Linked DNA regions of Homo sapiens: region 1 is linked to region 2. The links are contacts of gene promoters, found by promoter capture Hi-C in human tissues and cell types (Jung and others, 2019). All regions are on one chromosome and are shown on one strand. The core of a region is centred on a gene start or on the middle of the fragment in contact, and the rest is flanking DNA. Distances in the headings are between cores, read along the strand shown. Region 1 holds the start of TMEM161A (transmembrane protein 161A). Region 2 holds the start of CERS1 (ceramide synthase 1).

Region 1 (6,800 bases), core at 409-2,908, 240 kb after region 2:
CCCGGGACCCTAGTGCAGACTGGCTGGCTGGCACTTAGGGACCATGAGTGCCAGCCCATGGGCCCCTGCAAGCCAGTGGGTCAGGGCTGTTGAAGCCCCACCCTTCCCCTAGGACCCTGCCCTCCCACCCCCCAGTCTGTTTTTCTCCTCTCTCTCCGACCTCTCTCCTGTGACCTGCCAGGGTTTTAACCACCCAATCAGCCAGCCCATCAAAACCTCAGCACGGTGACACCTCCAGCCCAGACCTCTCTGCTGAGCTCAACCAGTAGCCTCCTCCAGGCTCTCCTGGGAGACCCTAGCACTCACCCATCATCCCATACCCTTCCAGGTGGTTCAGGCCCTTCCCAGTCTCACAGTCAGCCCCCAACTTGGTTCTGCACCCTGCAGGCATAGCTAGAGACCATCCCTCCACCTCCCCACAGCTCAGCTCTCTCCTCAGCCCTCCCTGCACCCAACCACTGGAGTCTCAGAGGTCTTCCTGGACCTTTGGGCTCTTCATCAATGACCCCACCACCCCCCAAAACCCCCCAAGGGAAAAGGTGGTGGAGGGGTGCATCTCTCCACCTAAGGCTCCCAGAGGTCTGTCCAGGGATGTTCTGATGGCCCTGCCCTCCACCCAGCCTCCTGTCTCAGGGTCAGGGCTCTGCAGACATCTGCAAGAATTTTCTGGAGTCTTCCATCAGCTCCTTCTTTTCCCTTCACTGGATTTACGATTCTCGAACTCAAGAACCCTGATAAAATCAATGCAGCCTCCCTCCTCATTCCCGGGAGCCTGTGCCTTCATCTCCTACGGCGTCCTGCACCTCCGCCTGGGACGACGCCCCACTTTCAATAATTCCGGCCATCAGTGCCCTTCCTTCAGGGCCATCTCCAGCGCCCCTCCTCGGGGATGGTCCCAGGCAGAGACCCTCCAGTTCCACGTCCCTCTCTCTGCCCAGGCCGGTCCCGTCAGGGTTGTGGGAGTCCCCCATCTCCCTGCACCAGCCTGACCCCCAGGGGCTGGGCTAAGTTTTAAGAACACACTCAATAGGTTGGACCCAGAGCCGCGTGAGACCTGAAGGTTCCAACTTTCCTGTCTCCCACTCTGAGAACCTTGCCCGCCCTGAGGCCAACCAGACCTCCTGAGTCCACCTCCCACGGCCTCCCCTGCCCGTTCCACACACCCCGATATAGCAGGGACCCCCGATGGATCCTGTCGGCGCGGCCCCCACGCTCCTGCAGGACCCCCGTCCCCAGAGTGGACCCCCAACAGGACCCCACACCGCCTTAACCAGGTTCCAAATGTGCTGGGGTCCCCAGTCCCCTCTGTGGGACCACGACCCCTCAAAAGGATCCCAGACCCCTAAAAGGTCTCGAGGGCAGAATCCCCAGAACGCTTAGGGGCTTCTAGTCCCCCTGGGTACAACTCCCGCCGACTCCCTCGGAGGTCCTGTAGCGAGAGCAGGGCTCCCAGAGAGGGACACACGGCCTTCAGCGTGCCCCCGAATCCCTCAGAGCCTCCAATCCCCAAGAAGAAACCCCAATCCATTCCCTCAGTGTCTCCCTGGACCCCTTCGGCTGGACCTCGGCCCTGCAGAACCCCCCACTTCGCGGGACGCTCGCTCACCATGACGCGTGCGAGAACGCGGTGCACTCACCCACCGGCCTAGGGCTCCGGGCACTCTGCGGAAACTCGACCAATTAGAGCCCGACTCTGGTCTGACGAGCATCCCGTCCGACCAATCAGTGTGTCTTGAGCCGGCAAATCACCAGGGACGAGGAGGCCGCTCGCGTTGCATGCCGGAAATTGTAGTTCAGATACGCTGGTTCGGATCGATCAAAGTGAAGATTGTGTCTGGGAGGCCTGCGTGGCCGACCTCTCTTAAGGCTTAGTTTTCTCTTTCCTACACTTATCTCAAAGGTTTGCAGCGAAAGCATTTATTCCCACCTAAGGGACATTTCTGAGAGTAGAATTCCCTCCCCCCATCAAGAACATTCAATGGCTCCCACTTAGTAGACGAAGTACTTAGTACTCCTAAGTACTAAGTAGGCTAAGTACTCAGACTGAATTCAGACCCTTCTGCCTGACTTAAATCTGCTGCTAGCACTATTGTGCACCCTATAGTACAACTTGCACCCACCATGCTGTCTCATACCTCCAGGCCTTTGTAAATATCCTACATCTTGCAATGCCTTCAAGAATGCCTCAATCTTAAAATAAAAACAAAACAAAAGCAAAAAAGAATGCCTCAATCTTTTTCACCTGGCAAGTGCCTTATTCATCTCTATCAGCTAGGACTCTGGCTGTGCTCCACAAAATATCAACTAACATGGGTTCAAGCAAAAAAGGAAAATTTTTGGCTCATGTGACAGAAAATACTAGCCATAGTGTCAGCTTCAGGCGTGGCTGGATCAAGGACCAAATGTCAGCTTCAGGGATCTGATGTTCTTTATTTCACCGCTAGGAGGAAAGGGCTTCTGGTGTTTGTGCCCCGGTTTTGCCATTTGTCTTTCTGTGGATGAGTGTGTCTGCCTGAGTGTAGACATATATTGGGTATGACTGAGTGTCTGAGCATCTTTATGGGGGTGGGTTCCTGTGTGTGGGGCCTGAGTAATTACCTTTTCGTTTTTACATTTTATTATGTATTTGTGTATTAATTTTTTTTTTTCTTGAGACGGAGTTTCGCTCTTGTTGCCCAGGCTGGAGTGAAATGGTGTGATCTTGGCTCACCGCAACTTCCGCCTCTTGGGTTCAAGTGAGTCTCCTGCCTCAGCCTCCCGAGTAGCTGGGATTACAGGCATGCACCACCACGACTGGCTAATTTTGCATTTTTAGTAGAGATGAGGTTTCTCCATGTTGATCAGGTTGGTCTTGAACTCCCGACTTGAGGTGATCCGCCCACGTCGGCCTCCCAGAGTGCTGAGATTACAGGCGTGAGCCACCGGGCCTGGTTTATATTTTATTTTTTTAACTTTCGGCTGGCAAGTGCTGAATCCTAAGCGCACTATCGCACGCCACCTCGTGGTGGAGGGCAAAAGCGCAGTCTCCCTGGGATGGAGAAGTCAAACCAGTCTCACTTGTGGCCCTGGGGGCTCCCAGCCTTAGAAAGCGGCCCATAGTTTTATGGACCTCACACTGGGTGCTTAGCCTGTGGGCACTAACATCAGGGACTGGCCTGACTTCTTGTCCACCGTGAGGGTGAGATCCAAAGGCTGGGAAGGCTCTTTCTCTCTGGCCATGCCTCAGTTTCCCCCAGGGTACCCGCTACCTTGACCCTTTTCCTCTTGCTCAGTCCCTGGCCCTGGTCTGGATGTGCGGGGTTGGGGTGCCAGTGAGTAGGTAGGTCTTCAGCCCATGTGGAAGGAAGGCCAGGATCATTGTCGGGGAGGTCCTCAGAACAGAAGGGTGGGTAACTGGCTGAAGAGTTTGCATCATCTGTGCATGTAGCAGTGGCGCTGCTGGAGGTGGCAGGAGCTGCATGCTCAGCTGGACCTCCACAGCCATTGATCACTGCCATGAGGACCGTGGCTCACCCCTCCTGAGTGGGGAAGGGACAGAAGGGACCAGGTGGGAAGTGTTGAAGACTTGAGTCCAGCCAGGCATGGTGGCTTGGCGTATGCCTGTAGTCCCAGCTACTTGGGAGGCTTAGGCTGGAGGATCGCTTGAACCCAGAATTTTGAGACCAGCCTGGGCAGCACAGCAAAACACCCATCTCTAAAAAAAAATTAAATTAAAAAAAAAGTTAAATTAGCCCAACGTGGTGGCTCAAGCCTGTAAGTCCCAGCTACTCAGGAGCCTGAGGTGGGAAGATTGCTTGAGCCCAGGAATTTGAGGCTGCAGTGAGTCGTGATCATGCCACAGCACTCCAGCCCTGGCAACATGACGAGGAAAAAAAAAGAGGCTGGGTGCAGTGGCTCATGCCTGTCATCCGAGAACTTTGGGAGGCCAAGGTGGGAAGATCACTTAAACCCAGGAGTTCCAGACCAACCTGGGCAACATGGGGAAACCCAGACTATACAAAAAATACAAAAATTAGCTGGGCAGGCTGGGCACAGTGGCTCACGCCTGTAATCCCAGCACTTTGGGAGGCTAAGGGGGGCGGATCACAAGGTCAAGAGATCAAGACCATCCTGACCAATATGGTGAAACCCTATTGGGTTTCTACTAAAAATACAAAAATTAGCTAGGCGTTGTGGCTCACGCCTGTAGTCCCAGTAGTAGTCCCAGCTACTGGGGAGTCTGAGGCAGGAGAATCACTTGAACCCAGGAGGCAGAGGTTGCAGTAAGCTGAGATCTTGCCACTGCACTCCAGCCTAGCTGGGCAAGGTGGTGTGCACCTGTAGTCTCAGTTACTTGGGAGGCTGAGGCAGGATTGCTTGCACCCATGAGATCAAGGCTGCAGAGAGCTATGATTGCACCACCGCAGTACAGCCTGGGCAATAGGGCAAGACACTGCCTCAAAAATAAAAAAATAGGCCAGGCGCAGTGGCTCATGCCTGTAATCCCAACATTTTGGGAGGCTGAGGTGGGAGGATCACTTGAGGTCAGGAGTTTGAAACCAGCCTGGCCAACATGGTGAAACCCCATCTCTACTGAAAATACAAAAATTAGCCGGGTGTGGTGGCAGTCGCCTGTAATCCGAGCTATTTGGGAAGGACGAGAATCGTTTGAACCCGGGAGGCAGAAGCTGCAGTGAGCCGAGATCCCGCCACTGCACTCCAGCCTGGGCAACAGAGTGAGACTTTGTCTCAGAACAAAAAAACAAAAAAAAAAACCCAATAATAATAAAAACAAAATTAGGCCAGGAGCGGTGGCTCACACCTGTAATCCCAGCACTTTGGGAGACCGAGGTGGGTGGATTACCTGAGGTCAGGAGTTTGAGACCAGCCTTGCCAACATAGTGAAACCCCGTCTCCACTAAAGATACAAAAAATTAGCTGAGCATGGTGGCACATGCCTGTAGTCCCAGCTACTCAGGAGGCTGAGGCAGGAGAATCGCTTGAACCTGGGAGGCAGAGGCTGCAGTGAGCCGAGATCGTGCCATTGCACTCCAGCCTGCATGACAGAGCGAGACTCTCTCTCAAAACAAAAAACAAAAACAAAACAAAATAATAAAAATAAGTAAGTAGAAAAGAAAAAGAAAAAAGACCTGAGTCTGGGTTGGGTGAGCGAAATCTCTAGCCGCACTTGGACACTCTGCAGAGGCTTCAAGTTCACCCCATCCAAGTCTCATTCCCTACAAGCTTCCACAGCACAGAGGATGAAATGGGAGCTTCCAGTCACCCACGGCACGCTCTTCCCTTCACCTCCACCTCCGAGCCGTTCTGGAGTCCTGGTGGGTTTGCCTCCACGCACACACAGAGAGTGATCATTCCAGGGGGCACTGCCTCCCCTCAGCTCCCAATGCCCCCTGCCACGGGAGCCTGGGGAGGGGCTTTTACACACTTTGATCATGCCATATCCCTATCCTGGAAACTGGGGCCCCAAAGCCCCCACCTCACTGGGGATGAGGGTGGCGAAGATGACGTAGGACAAACCTTAGCTGGGGTCTGGGGTGCAGATGGCATCCTATACTCCGCCGTATAAACAAGTGCCCCCTCCGGGTTCTGTCACTTATATACTTTGTCCAGTCTCCCTATCCCTTAAAAGGCGTCCCGCCCATCATCTTGTCTAGGACTGTGTGCGCTAAGGGTGAAATGCAAGGTGCTCAGTTTTACTGAAGAAATCTCTCCCTGGGGCGCTGAGTGACAGAAAGGATTTTGAAATTGTCAGTCAACGTACCCCGCCCATTCTGGCTGAGCTGTGCCAACCAGCTCAGCTTTGGATCTTGGCAGAGTGATTGGAAAGCAGGTGAGTTTGTTTGTTTGTTTGGTTTTTGAGATAGAGTCTTGCTCTGTTGCCCAGGCTGGAGTGCAGTGGCGCGATTTCGGCTCACTGCAACCTCCACTTCCCGGGTTCAAGTGATTCTCCTGCCTCAGCCTCCTGAGTATCTGGGACTACAGGCACACACTACCATGCCCGGCTAATTTTCGTATTTTTAATAGAGACGAGGTTTCACCACATTGGTCAGGCTGGTCTCGAACTCCTGACCTCAAGTGATCCACCTGCCTCAGCCTCCCAAAGTGCTGGGATTACAGGTGTGAGCCACCATGCCCGGCCTGTTTTTGTTTTTGTTTTTTTACTCTTTGAGACGGGGTCTTTTGCTCTGTTGCCCAGGCTGGAGTGCAGTGGCTCAATCATGGCTCACTGCAGCCTTGACTTCCCGGGCTCAGGTGATTCTCCCACCTCAGCCTCCTGAGAAGCTGGGACTAGAGGTGTGCACTGCCACGCCTGGCTAATTTTTTTTTTTTTTTAAGAGATGGGATTCACCATGTTGCCCAAGCTAGTCTTGAACTCCTGGGCTTAGGCCATCCTCCCACCTCAGCCTCTCAAAGTATTTGGATTACAGGGGTGAGCCACTGTCCCCGGCCAAGGCGGATCTTGTAAGTCTTGATCTCAACACTCATGTTTTCCGTCTTCCTGTCCAAATCTGTGAACTCCAACTCACAAAGGTGTTTCTCAGCTTGGGACAGTGTAGAAGGCGTCATGGAGGAAGAGAGGCAGAGCTGGGCCTTGGAGGGTGGGAAGGAGTTTAAAAAGGAGACAAGTTGGGGGTTGAGGGAGGCGCTCCAGGAAAGACCAGTAGGGTCACATGTTGGTACTGCAAATATTTCTAAGGTACTGGAGAGGCTGGGACAGGGATAGGAGACCAGGCCAGACTAGGGTAGGGCAGCTGAGGAGCCCAACTTCCTTCTAAGGATGAGGAAAAGCTTCAAAGAGA
Region 2 (6,602 bases), core at 1,113-3,612:
AGTGAGGGGGGAGGCCCCGAGGGGAGCAGGAGGGCTCTGGGGGCCAGAAGGGGGACACTTGGGCTTACGATGAGGGAGACGGATGGATGCGTCAGCCCAAGGGAGTTGGGCTGGTGGGGGTGACCCTTGAAGGGAACATGGAGGGGGTTATATGGGGGCATCTTGGGAAACACAGAGAGCCCCATGGGACCGACACAGAGGGGAGAGGAAGAACTTGTGAGGAAGCCGCCCCCTCAGTGGGAGATTCTGGAGAGGCTAGAGGGCTGGGAGAGACTAGGGGGAAGGTGTGGCGGGGACATGGGAACCTGGGGGCGATGAAAGGGGAGGAGGGGCTGGAGGCAGAAAAAGGGGACAGGAGGCGGAAAAGGTGTCACAGGCGAGGTGAGACCCTGAGGGGACATTGGGAGTGCAGAGGAAGCTGCTGGCTCCAAGGCAGGGGTTGGGGAGTGCGGTGGGTGGGTGGGTGGCGGGGCGCGGCTCCAGAGCTGCCCGGCCAAGCCCCACCCCTGGACAAGTCCCACCCCCTTCCCAGAGGCTGAGGGGGCCGGAGCCCAGAGCACCCAGCAGTTGTCATGGAGACAGCTGGAGCCGGCTCCGGTAACCCCTGGCAACCAGGCTGCTGCCAAGAAGATCAGCTTTGGAACACCCGGCAGCCCCTCCACCCATTTCTGAGGAAGGGCGAGCCTCGAAATGGGGCGAGCACCCCACCCAAGGGGCTGGGGAGGGCCCCCGGGGCTCGGCCCTGGTAGTCTACCAGCCGCCACATCCTCCTGTCCCGCAGGGGTGGGGGACGGCTTGCCCTCCTGGGTCTCGGGCTTCCCAGCTGGAAACTGGGAAGAAGGCAGGGGCAACAAGCAGGATAAAGACCACTGCGGACCCAGGGAGGGGCCCTGGACAGCCCTGTCTCCCCCTCCCACAGTAGGGGTGTGGCTGGGGTCTCTCCCTCATGTGGGTGATATGGGGACGGGAGTGGGGAGAGTGGCAGTCAGACAACATCCCATCATCGACCTCACAAGGGCCAGCCTCTTCCCGGCCAGCAGAGAAAGGCCCCTTTGTTGGCGCTGGGCACATTGTCCCTGCACCCTCCAGCCAGACGGGCGGGGTGACACCAGCTGGTCCACGGGGGTGTCCAGGCCAAGCTAAAGGCCCAAACACCTTCCAACCAGCTCCTGCCACAGCGACCCCTCCCCAGGGAAGTGAGTGGGGTCAGGCGCCAATGTCACCATCATGGTCACTCTCTCGCAGGGGCGATGGTCTCCGCAGAAACTGGGGAATTCTGCTGTCGCCTCTTGGAGGCAGCACAGTCCAACCCTGAAGCCCCGGGCCATGTCACCTCCAAGGGAGCGACCACTGGCGTGGCCAGAGCACCCAGGCCCTTGCCATCCCTGGTCGGAGGGTGGCGCTGACCCCAGATAGGCACAAGGCAGCGACCGGGCAGCTCCTGCCTCTTCCCGATTACAGCGGGCAAGCCGGCCCCGCCGCCGCACGGACCCAGCAGAAAACGGGCAGCGGACCTCGCTCCGGGCCGGGGCGCAGCCCGCATGGCAGGGAGGCGCATGGCGCAGGCCGCGGTGCGCCGAGCCCTCCCGTTCCCGGTCCTGGGCTTCTCAGTGTCTGGCTCGGCCCTGCCGGAAAGAGCGCGCGGTGGCCGGAGCCATCCACCGCGCGGGGCCCCCTGGTCCCAAACTGACCGGAAAGGGCCGTGCCTCGGTCCCCCACGTCTCAAACATCCCACCTGTCTCGGGCCCCCCATGTCCCAGACTCACCCCAGCCCGGCCACACCCCCGCATCTACCCGGTTCCCCCACGCAGCACTGTCTGAAGGGGGCGCGCGGCGGCCCGAGAGACCTTATCCTGGGGCTCCAACGTCCTGGGCCTCTCCAGCCCGAGGCCCCCACCCACGTTCCGGCGACCCCTTCATCCGCAGCAGCCAGCGCTGGAAGAAAGGAACGCGCCGGCGGCCCCAGGTCCCCGGTCCCGGCTTCCCCCAGTCCGGGGTCCCCTCGTCCCGGCCCCCGGCCACACTGACCCGAAAGAGGCGCGCAGTGGCCGCGGAGCGCAGGGCGGTCCAGCCCAGCGCGCCGAGCGCCAGCAGCAGCAGCTCGGGCGGCGCCAGGTGCGCGTGCTCAGCCAGGCCGCGACGCGCCAGCCCCCAGCCGCAGTCCGTGCAGCCCCGCGCCGCCGCCAGCGCGCTGCCCCAGCCGCGCTGCACTAGCTGCGCGTAGCTCGGCATGGGCTCGGGCCCCGTCGGCCCCGCCGCGGGCCCCGCCGCCGCCATACCGCCCGCTCGCCCGCCGTGCCCGTCGCCTGCGCCCGCCCGCGGTAGCCGACGGAGCCGCGCGCCCCGCGTCACGCGCCGCAGCTGGGCCGGGGGCGCGCGGGCGGGAGAGCGGAGGGCGGAGGGGCGGGACCGGCGCAAGCTCCGCCCCGCTGGGGGCGCGGCTGGGGGGCGGCCAGCGGGGACGCGGGGCGCCCTGGAGGCGGGCCCGCGCCCCTGCCCGTTTCCCAGCAGAGAAACCCAGGCGCGGGGGCCGGAGCTGGGGGCCCGTTGGACCTGGACCCCGAGAGACCCCGCGCACCGCCGTGTCGCGCCCCCATGCCTGCCCCGCGCGCCCCCCGCTCCCCCACCCCACCGCGCCGTGCCCGTGACGGGGGGCACGGGGGACACTAGCAGGCAGTCCCCTCGACTGGCGACCCCCGCTTCTCCCGGCCCTCCAGCACGCCACGCCGCTCCCGCTCCATCGCCCCGGCCCGCTCCGACCTCACCGTTCTTGGAGCCCTCGCTCCTTCTCAAGGACCCGAGGCCTGGCACGCCTTGGCACAGTCTTGGGACCATCCCGTGGCCCTCCCGCATTCAGGAGGCGTAGGCTCAATGAAACATTCTCATTCTTCAAAAGGACACGGCCCACGCCAGGGCGTTGGGAGGCGCACCTAGTGGAGACGCAGCTCTCTGCCCTACACCAGGAGCTTGGCAATGGGGTTCCAGCTTGGACGCGGGTACCCTGGGCACTTCCCAGGCATCTTCTTCTGCAGGTCTGCACAGCGGGCTACTGGGACAAAGGTGTGATGGGGGCTGCTGAGATTAGGGGGTTCTCTGAGGGTCACTTGCTGCTGTGACCCTGGGGAACCCGGGGGGGGGGCTCCCCAACATCAGGTTAATACATGAGTTGCAGAGAGGCTGCAGGAGTGGGTGCCAACGTGGGAGGGACTCCCAATCTGGATCGACTGTGACATCATTGGGACCACCATAAGTGACTTTCCAATGCACTGTTCATTGACAAGGCCCTGTGCCCAAAGCCACTGAAGGCCATCGAGGAAGACACTGGTCACCTCTGTTAGGACCGCCATCTCCCCAGGCACTGCTGCACCCCCCCTCCATCCTAGCCCGCAGGATGTCCCCACACCTGGCCTTCAAGGTGCAGGATGCAGGGATGAGTCCTGCAGCAGCCGCGCTGGCTCCCGAACACCTGCACCTGAACTTCAGGGGCACAGGTGAACACACCTTCCCCTTGCCCCACACCGAGTCCCCCACAACACATCCAGGTGGCCCTGCATCTGGCCACTTCTCTGCATCTGCACAGCCTTGCCCCCCGCTCCCCGCCACCACCACCACTACCACCACTACCCTCTTCCGTCTGGTATCCTGGCTTCCTCCTCACCCCACAGAGGTGAGAAGGTGGCTGCGACGCTGTTGGCCTGTTCCTCGTCTGCTTGCAGCCCTCTATGGCTCCTGTTCCACTCAGGGAAAGCCCAAGTCCTCACTGGCTGCCCTCACAGCGCCCTGTTTCCCTCCGCCTGTGGGCTTTTCTGCTGTTCTTCCAACATGCCAAGCTCTGTCCTGCCTCAGGGCCTTTGCACTAGCTGTTCCCCCCTCCTGAAATGCTGTTCCCCTAGGTACCTGCATGGCTCTTCTGCCACCTGCTCAGGCTGCCCCCGACTCTGAAGTCACACGCCCCTCATGTCTTCATGTCTGCTTGGCACTTGTCACCATCTGCCCCTACATACATACAGCTCATTTTTTTTTTTGAGTTGGAGTCTTGCTCCGTTGCCCAGACTGGAGTGCAGTGGCGCAATCTCAGCTGACCGCAACCTCCGCCTCCCAGGTTCAAGGGATTCTCCTGCCTCAGTCTCCCGAGTAGCTGGGATTACAGGCGCCTGCTATCACACCCAGCTAATCTTTGTATTTTCTGTAGAGACAGGGTTTTGCCATATTGGCCGGGCTGGTCTCGAACTCCTGACCTCAAGTGATCTGCCTGTCTTGGCCTCCCAAAGTGCTGGGATTACAGGCATGAGCCACCGTGCCTGGCCCCACTCTTTATTCTTGAACGTGGACTCCATGTGGACTAGGGGCCTAGTGTAGGGGTGGGGCACGAGGCTTGGCCTGGCCAATAGTTCAGGTCCAGCCGGAGGCCAGAGATGTGACTAACGCCACAACCTGCCTGGCAGGCAGAGGGGGACGAGGGGGATATGCTCTCAAAGGTCCAGCCAGGCCTGTGGGGCAGCCGTGGACAGTCCCAGCCACCTCCCTCCACCCTCTCGGCCAGCACTATCTGGTCACCATGGCGCCCATCGGTCACGGGAGAGGCGCCACCCACCCACCCACTAGCCCCAGCTCAGCCTCGAATTTCTTTTTGGCGGGTCCAGCCAGGAGGCTGCCAACGGGTGGGTGCAGGGCAGGAATGGAAGGCGGCTCTACTGGCAGCTGGGGACCAGGCACCCAAGGCTGGGCGGAGGTCAGTCTTGAGGCCAGTGTCCCCCCACCCACCCCAAGGTCTCCTCCCTCCAGAAAGCTCGGCCTGGACCCCTCCTAATGTCCCTGTCCAGGGAGTCCTCTTTTGCCACTTCCCTCCCCTACCAGGCTGGGGGTGGGGGTCGCTTGCTGTCCTGCCCTGGCAACCAGAGACGGGGTCTGGTTTCAAATGAATAGGCCTGGGTGTGGCTTGGGGAAACCCAGTCTTATCTTTTCCCTGGGAGATAAGCCCAGGCCAGGCTCAGAGGTCAAAGGGCATGCATCCCCATCCAGCGCCCCTTGACCTCACAGCCCTGTGCCACCGAGGGACCTCTGCACCGGTCATGCCCACTGCCAGGGTGCCTGTCCCCCTAGAACCTAGCCTGGCAGCTCCTTTTTGTTGTTCGGGTGGGCACAGCTCAATGGTGACATCTGGGAGGCTCCGGCCAGCCCTGCTGCCACCCACCCACCTCCCTCCCTAAATGGTGCGGCCGCCTCTCATCGCGGCTGGGTGCTTGGCCCCAGGACCCTGCCACAGCAGGACTCTGCCTTGGAGGAGGGTTTGCGGGGCGGCAGGAGCAGCACCTGGGGTTAACGCTGACCCTGCAGGGCCCCTCCGGCTTTGCTGAGCTGAGGCCTGAGTTTTTCCTGCCCTGGCCCCCACTTCCTCCAGGCCACTAGGGGTTCTCATTTTGAATCTTGGTGCCCCTCATGATAGCGGCATGACTTCTCTGTGCCTCAGTTTCCCCCGATGCCAACCAGGGCTGCTCAGTGGCCTCTAGGGGCCAGGGTGAAGCATGGGGACAGGGCTGTGCTGCCTCTGGCCTGCAGGAGCAGGTTGTGGCTGTGTGAGGGGCGGGGTGGGGGTCTGCACACCTGCTGCTCGTCACAGACCCTGGTCTCCAGGAACAGCCCTGGATGCCAGTGCCCCAGGACTCTCCCTGAGCGTCAGCTCCCACACGCCCCCAGCAAAGTGACCAGAGCACATCATCAGGTGGAACACCCTGGAGTTGAGATATTTATTAACAGATGGGGGTGCTGGGGGTGGGCTCCTGCCCCCAGAGGGGATGCAGGTGGATGCCGGGTGGGGAGGGCTGCAGGGCTGGCTCCTGGCCTCTGTCCTGGCTTCATGGTCCTGACAGCTCTGGGCCAGCCTCAGGCGCTGGGAGCGTACTGTAGCACCAGCCTGTCAAAGTCGTTCTCCTTTAGCAAGACACATGGCAACACAGGGTGGGGGCAGGGTGTGGGGAGACAGGTGGAGGGAGAGAGAGAGGGCGCATGTGAGCCCAGGCTGAGCTCCAGGCGCCCCCTGGCCTGGTTCTCGGGGACAGGCCATCCCCACCACTCACCTTGGCCTGGTACTCCTTGATGAAGGGATGGGACCTGTGGGCATCCTTCAGCTGGGACAGGTATCGGTTTGTCACCTGCAGGGGAGGCAGGGAGGCAGGTGAGCCGAACACGGGGACCCCACGGTGGCTCTGACCTGCTGGACAGGGGTGGATTGGGGTGAGAGCCACAGTACCCCAGGGGGCTCCTCACCCTGCCTTGGGACTGGGCTGATCTCGGAGAACCTTCAGGGTGGGGGTGGAGGGATGGGCCTGCCCCCTGGAGAGGCGCTGGCATGGAGCTGGCCTCCGTACATGGTGGGGGATGTATTGTGGTGTTCAGGGGAGCAGGTCGGGCAGGGCCCCAGGTGAGGATGGGTTGGGGGGCACAGGGTTTGTGAGGGAGGTGGGCTGCGGTAGGCATACTGTATACAGAGTTTTCCCAGGGGCCTAGGGATTAGGGCCTGGACCCCAGGCTGGGGTCCCAGGGTCTGGACATTAGGGTTGGCCTGGAGCCCTGGGGGCCGCTTACCTCAGGGGGCTTGCCCA

Evidence for each region. Contacts are between HindIII fragments. The study calls those that stand out against the background at their distance.
Region 1: a contact is called between the fragment with the promoter of TMEM161A here and the fragment with the promoter of CERS1 in region 2, in 1 of the 25 tissues and cell types used here (lymphoblastoid cells).

Annotation. Positions count from the first base shown.
Region 1 is chr19:19,136,820-19,143,619 of GRCh38, forward strand. It overlaps TMEM161A (transmembrane protein 161A), which reads right to left and starts at 1,659. Exons shown (of 12, transcript NM_017814.3): 1 at 1,607-1,659. The coding sequence starts at 1,609. RefSeq lists enhancers at 1,041-1,902, 1,387-1,596, 1,877-2,066 and a silencer at 1,657-1,736. The HindIII fragment of the contact is 19,527 bases long and covers 1-6,006 here.
Region 2 is chr19:18,893,796-18,900,397 of GRCh38, forward strand. It overlaps CERS1 (ceramide synthase 1), which reads right to left and starts at 2,363. Exons shown (of 8, transcript NM_021267.5): 1 at 2,029-2,363. The coding sequence starts at 2,277. It overlaps GDF1 (growth differentiation factor 1), which reads right to left and starts at 2,363. Exons shown (of 8, transcript NM_001492.6): 1 at 2,029-2,363. It overlaps COPE (coat protein complex I subunit epsilon), which reads right to left. Exons shown (of 10, transcript NM_007263.4): 8 at 6,586-6,602; 9 at 6,078-6,152; 10 at 5,719-5,931. The coding sequence ends at 5,884. RefSeq lists a silencer at 1,364-1,413. The HindIII fragment of the contact is 24,852 bases long and covers 1-6,602 here.